Regions from separate parts of the Homo sapiens genome. Here region 1 is linked to region 2. Evidence: promoter capture Hi-C in 16 types of primary human blood cells and fetal thymus (Javierre and others, 2016). All regions are on one chromosome and are shown on one strand. Each heading gives the region's core, a stretch centred on a gene start or on the middle of the fragment in contact. The rest is flanking DNA. Distances are from core to core; before and after follow the strand shown.

Region 1 (2,963 bases), core at 367-2,866, 750 kb before region 2:
TTCTCCAGAAGCAGGGGGTCTTTGCCAGGATCCTGTTGGTGGTAAAGCTTCCTGCCCTTCCCCCAGTGGATAAGGTTTTCATACAGAAGAAAAGTTTGGAGAGGTTAAGTGGAATTTCATGATTGTCCCCCAGTGACAGAACTATCACCTCCTAACATTCTTGTTATCTCCGGAAAAATATTTATTGCTTATAGAGAAAAATGTGGTGTTTCAATATAGCTTCTTTACAGATATTTACTAAGGATCTGTGATATAAATAGCACTTTAAATATTTAGTACATTGCTGCCTGCCCTTTTGTTTCTCCACCAGATATATCTGTAGAAAATACATTCATCATTCAACAACCCACCTGTTTATTTTAGCTACTTTCCATAGTGCCATCCAAAATTAAACCAAATCAAAATGAATGTGGTTAGGTACAAAAGCTGTCTTGCAAGAAGCAAGTGCACACCGCACCTGGGAATACAGGAAAGAATTGGATCAGGGCTCTGCTGTTTCTCTGAAGACAGGCTTCACTCAAGTAATGATGGTTTATTTTTAAAAACCATCCCTCTGAAGAGTCCCTTACAAGGAAATTTCTTAACTTTTTAAAAGCCATACATGGTGTACACATGGTGCCAAGTGCTTAAGGGCAGTTGGTTAAACCTTTCTTTGAGGGCAAGGAAAGCCTAGTCCATCCTACTCAGACTTTTAGGAAAAATGAGGCTTATCTATTTTTAACAGGATAATTTCTGTTACTTTGGGTTCTCTAAGATATCTCACCAAAAGACCAGAATTAGAGAAGACTGTCCTAGTTAAGTATGGAATATTGAGTCAAATTAATGGGTTCCAGGTCCTGTGGAGGGAATGTTCTTTAAAATATATGTATATCTCCTAATTATCAGTATTAAGATCATTCAGGTTATATGTTAATTTAAAAATATATCTATTACATTAAGAAACTTTTTTTTAACATAAGGTAATTTTAAGAGAACCTTGTCATGTTGGTGAAGGAACATTTTACGAGCCCCTCTGTACTCTGAAATGCCGTGTCCGAGATTAGACATACAAGTCAGTGTTACTTAAGCGGCCAAATTTCCAATTTGTTATTGCTTGTTACCAAATGAAAGTAAAAAGATAAACAGAAAGGTAAAATAAAGAAACTGGCTTTTATGTATTTTATTCACAAAAAGGGCGTTTGCCGAAGGACCTTCCCATTCACGGGCTGTCACTCACAGGTGCTCGGAGAATTCAGCCTCCAAATCCGCAGGTCACAGGTCAGCCAAGTTTTAAGAAACACTCCGGGTTAGCGACTCTTCCTCTCTGCAACTCCCACCCCTGCGCCGAGGGCAGCGGGACACGGCCGGGCGGTCCCCAGGGGAAGATGAGGCCCTGGACGCCCCGCGTGCGCTGGAGGCCCGGAGGCCAAGGCCGAGGCCGAGGCCGAGGCCGGGAGCATGCCAGCGGGGTCGCGCCACCGAAAGCTCCTCCGGCCTGGGCCCGCCGTGCCCCGAGGCCGCGGGCGGAGGCTGGAGCAACGAGCCCAACTCTCCCTCCGCCCCGGGGAGGCGGGGTCTCCGCCTTTCCCGCGTTCGGGCCTCACCGCCCCCTCCGCCTTCTCTGAGCCCCCGCGCCACTTCCGCTCCTCGCAGCGGAGCCGGTCCCCTAGGGCTCGGGTCGCACGGAGCTGACCCCTAACGAAATGGGGCCGCGCCAAGGGCGGTGGTGGCTGCTGCTCTGGCTGCCGCCCCTGGCCACACTGCCCGTGCGCGGGGAGGCGGCGGCGGCAGCGTTATCAGGTAACCCGGGACCGGCGGCGGCGGCGCGCGCGTGCGTGCTCGCTCCCCGGCTTCGCGGCTGCCCTGAGGGCGCGCTCTTTGGCCCGGGCGGCACCGCGAGGCCCACTGGGGCGGGCGCTCCCTTTTCTCGCTTTGGGGTCTCCCGGGCAGGCCCCGCCCGCCCTTCCTGTCTTACTGGGCTTCCGTAGTCTCTCGCCTGGCAGTTGGACATTTTGTAATTTTAGAATTAGAAGCAACCGCGCGATCCAGTCGCCCAATTCCCTCGTTTTACAGAAGCAACCGAAACTCAGAGAGGTTTTGATTTGCCCAGGGTCACACAGCTTGTCACTGGCACAGCTGACCCTAGTCTCCAGACTTTCAGCACACGGCCTTTTGTACAGTACATCAATGCGTGTTGAAATCCTTGTTATTTCACTATCTCGCATTCCTTTGGTCTCAAGACTAGAGAAGGTAACAGCTTCAGCTTCAGAATCGGAGCGAAAATTCTTCTGCCCCTGACTGTTGTGACCTTGAGCGAGTAAACATAACGGTCCCACGTGAGCGGCAGGTAATGAGGCCTCACAAGGTTCTTGTGGTGTTCGTGTGCACAATGCCTGGCACACAGGAAGCAAGAACTGGTAGCGGCTGCTAGCTGTAGGGGCTCGCCACGGAGTGGGCTTAAGATGCTGGCACACTGGGGAAGGATCTGGGAAGGACACCTGGGGAAGTCAGAAACCTAGAGTTCCAACTCCAGACCTGCCGCTAACTTACCATGAGCTTCACATTTCTGTTTCTTTTTTTTTTTCCCCTCATAAAATCTTTTAAAAGATTTCCTGGGTGCACTGTCTACCAACTTCCCTTCCTTGCTTTGGCTACCCTGGTTTCAAGGGAGGCTGCCAAGTGTATTCTTTTAGCTGGGCATGGCCCTCCCTCCGGTTATACCGCGGTTTTTTATCTAAGGATGAATGAGAGACTGGATGTTGATGAGGTCATTATCAGATTCTGCCACAGCTCCCAACTGAGGGAATCTTGCAGTGAGTTATATGTTGGGGAAGTGTTGGATTCCAGTTTTCATTGAAGAGAAATTTTTTGAGTGTTCAGTATGTGCTAGGCAGTGTTATAAGTGCTTTAACTGCAGTATCTATCATATTTAATACCCATAGAAGCCCTATGCGGGAAAGCACCATTTTATACCCATTTTACAG
Region 2 (3,159 bases), core at 87-2,586:
TCCCCTGCAGTCCCCCTTTACCTCATTTCTAATTAACCTCATCACAAGTTACTCTATTAATATGTGTTTCTGTCTGTTGCTCCTGACTCAGAGTTCTTTGAGGACAGGGGTTTTATATCAATCACACATCGCTAGCATAGCCCCTGGAATATAGCACTCTATACCATATGTGTACCAAATGGAAGGGTTTATATCGGGCTTACAAATCACAGCAAAGAATGTCTGGGAATATCAGGATAGTCAGTCTTCCATATTTGCTGGGAGGGAAAAGGAACACTTCTGAAGAAGTGCTGATGACCCGGAAAGTCAGTTAAGGACAACAGGTGTGCCTAAAAAAGAAGTAAAGATCAGAGAACTCACAGACTTCCATTAGAGAGAACACAAAGAAATCATTTATTTAAAGATCAGACTAAATCCAAAACAATTAGGTTCACAAAGCCAACAGAAATGCAAGATACAGACATACACAGCCAACATTCTCTTAAGTCAATTTCAAAATGTTGAAAGCTATTTCGGCAATAAAAATCACAAACTTTCTGCACTGCCAAGGTGAGGGAAATTACATTTCAAAGGCGATTCCAAAAAAACCTAATCAAGACTTTCCTCAGGATCAATTTTTGGTATTCACATTTCCTTAGCATGTAATACAGGTGCCTGTCTTCGGCGTACGGATAAACCCAGAAGGCCAAGAGCAAAAATCGTGATTAACTTTAAAGAGTTTAACTTGCACCCCTTGTATGATGCCACAGGATACAATACTATAAACCGCCACTCACACAAGATGAGTTACAGTTGCCATGGGTTAAATCTGCTGCCTGGAAAACAAATTTTAAGTCCTCCACCCAGAAGGGTCTGGGGAATGGGACGCAACAAAGACCAAGCCAGAACACCCCGGAGCCCAGACCTGCTCAGAAAACGCGTTCCACGTGTGCGCGCCCGCAAGCCCGGCTTCGCTTCCCGCCCCGCGGGGAGCGCCCTTAGCTGCCCTATAGCGTTCGCGCCCGGACCAGGACGAGTAGAGGGGACGGGGCCCTCGAGCCATCGAGGATATAATAAATACCCGTTAGTCACACCACACTACCTTCCTGCTAGCGCGAGGCAGGCAATTACCATCCACTAGCCGCAAGCAGCCAGCGTCTCACCCGATGCGCAGGCCCAACCCCGCACCCGCACCCGCACCCAGCACGCACGCGCGCGGCAGAGCGGGTGCAGAGAGCGCGGCACTGAGTCCCGCCTCGCCCGGGGGCAACGTGAGATTGGCGCTGCTCGCAGCCAATCCGCTGGCAGCGAGTCTGTCCGGGAAAGCTTCCGCAAGCTGCGCAGCGCCGGGCCTGAGGGCGTGTATCCGCGGCCGTAGCAGCCGGGCTGGTCCTGCTGCGAGCCGGCGGCCCGGAGTGGGGCGGCGGGTAAGTGGGCACGAACGCGGTGGACGCTGTACAGTCGCCTTCGTCGGTAGGGAACTGCTGGCGGCCTAGGGGTCGTCCTGAGAGGGAAAAGCGGGCTCCGGCTGCATCTGCGGCGCCCTGCGTGGCCGTAAGAGCCAAGTGGCCTCAGAGGCTCGCCCCCTACGCAAATCCTCGTTGTCTTGCCAGGGTCCTGACGTGACGTGCGGCCGCGAGAAGGAAGGGGCGGGTTGGGGGAGGCGCTGAGGTGGTAGCAGCGGCGGCTTTTGCTGAGTTTTCTCTGGCCCAGAGCGCTCGGGCTGTCGGTCTAGCAGGGGGGACTCCCCTGAGGGGCCGCTGCGGGTCGCCGTCTTCGGAGGCACCGGCGAGGGCAGAGCCAACAGCCTCTTCACGGTCTGTAAGGTCATTGTTTGCCAGTCGTGGGCAGCGCGGCAAACCTGCTGGGAAAAGGTTTTCTGGTTGGAATAGGATGAGTACCGCACCAGCTTTGCCTTCCAGCTGAGATGTAAATTTCAGGCCTCCATCCTGTGGAACGTGGGAAAACTATCTTGAGTGTTGGCATGTTCTAAGTATGACATAATAGTTTAATGTATGATAAATCATGGGTGTTTAGACGAAAGATTTACACATATAAATTGGAGGCTTTAGCGGTCTTAGTGTAACTAACTTTTCGTCCCCTTAACCCTTGATGCCTGTTCTATGGGTCTCTAGAGCGGAAGGAGCATTATACTCCGGAAACATTTGCTGGAAGGGGTTATGAGAAATTCCTCTCTGTATGCTAACTCCGTAATACAAGCGTTTGTGTATTTTAAAATCACAGCTGTTCCAAATATAATCTAGCCTCGTTTTCCCCCTCCGTCGGATGATAGGTGTTCTTCAGGACAGTTTTATTTTAAGCAATTCTTAGTCTCAAGTAAACACCATCATTAAAAGAACTGAGAACTATTATCAATTCTTCCTTTGGAGTCCATCTTCAATGGAAAGGAGAAGGGAAAACCTTTTTTAAAAAGAAGAAAGAAAACTGAAGTTTTTGATTTGACTAGAGAAATATTCAGAAGACTCCTTATTTTCACCTAGTTTAATCACAAAATTGAGAAACAAACATTATCCCTTGACCATGTAAATTTTACACCACATTATGTCAACAGCATGTACCTTCCACATTGAGTATTCAGAAAGAAGTGATCTGAACTCTGACCATTCTTTATGGATACATTAAGTCAAATATAAGAGTCTGACTACTTGACACACTGGCTCGGTGAGTTCTGCTTTTTCTTTTTAATATAAATTTATTATGTTGGTAAATTTAGCTTTTGGCTTTTCACTTTGCTCTCATGATATAAGAAAATGTAGGTTTTCTCTTTCAGTTTGAATTTTCCTATTCAGTAAAACAACATGCTAGAAAACAAACTTTTGGAAAGGCATTGTAACTATTTTTTCAAATAGAACCATAATAACAAGTCTTGTCTTACCCTAAAGTCAAATGCTGAAGATTCTTTACTGCTGTCATCAGCATCTACAAGTAGCATATTTTGGATGGTGTTTGTGTGCTACTTCAAAGTAACTAGGAAAAAATAATCCTCGCAACACAGGTACCTTGTCATGTCAGAATTGGGGGTGTTAGGTTGCCAGTTGTATCAGTGTTGATTCATTTCATTACTTCCTACAGAGCAAACATGAACGTTGGAGTTGCCCACAGTGAAGTGAATCCAAATACCCGTGTCATGAACAGCCGGGGTATGTGGCTGACATATGC

What was found. The method cuts DNA at HindIII sites, captures the fragments that hold promoters and counts their contacts. A CHiCAGO score of 5 or more calls a contact.
Region 1: a contact is called between the fragment with the promoter of NEMP2 here and the fragment with the promoter of ORMDL1 in region 2, in 16 of 17 cell types (fetal thymus, total B cells, monocytes and 13 more). The highest score is 20.1, in fetal thymus.

Annotation. Positions count from the first base shown.
Region 1 is chr2:190,533,375-190,536,337 of GRCh38, reverse strand. NEMP2 (nuclear envelope integral membrane protein 2) reads left to right here and starts at 1,616. Exons shown (of 9, transcript NM_001142645.2): 1 at 1,616-1,779. The coding sequence starts at 1,683. NEMP2-DT (NEMP2 divergent transcript) reads right to left here and starts at 1,500. Exons shown (of 5, transcript NR_183903.1): 1 at 1,217-1,500. RefSeq lists a silencer at 1,303-1,952. The HindIII fragment of the contact is 6,238 bases long and covers 50-2,963 here.
Region 2 is chr2:189,782,516-189,785,674 of GRCh38, reverse strand. ORMDL1 (ORMDL sphingolipid biosynthesis regulator 1) reads left to right here and starts at 1,336. Exons shown (of 5, transcript NM_016467.5): 1 at 1,336-1,406; 2 at 2,552-2,661; 3 at 3,073-3,159. The coding sequence starts at 3,080. PMS1 (PMS1 homolog 1, mismatch repair system component) reads right to left here and starts at 1,225. Exons shown (of 13, transcript NM_000534.5): 1 at 1,082-1,225. RefSeq lists enhancers at 808-857, 1,408-1,637, 1,648-1,707, 1,798-1,877, 1,163-2,049 and a silencer at 1,218-1,267. The HindIII fragment of the contact is 2,480 bases long and covers 1,308-3,159 here.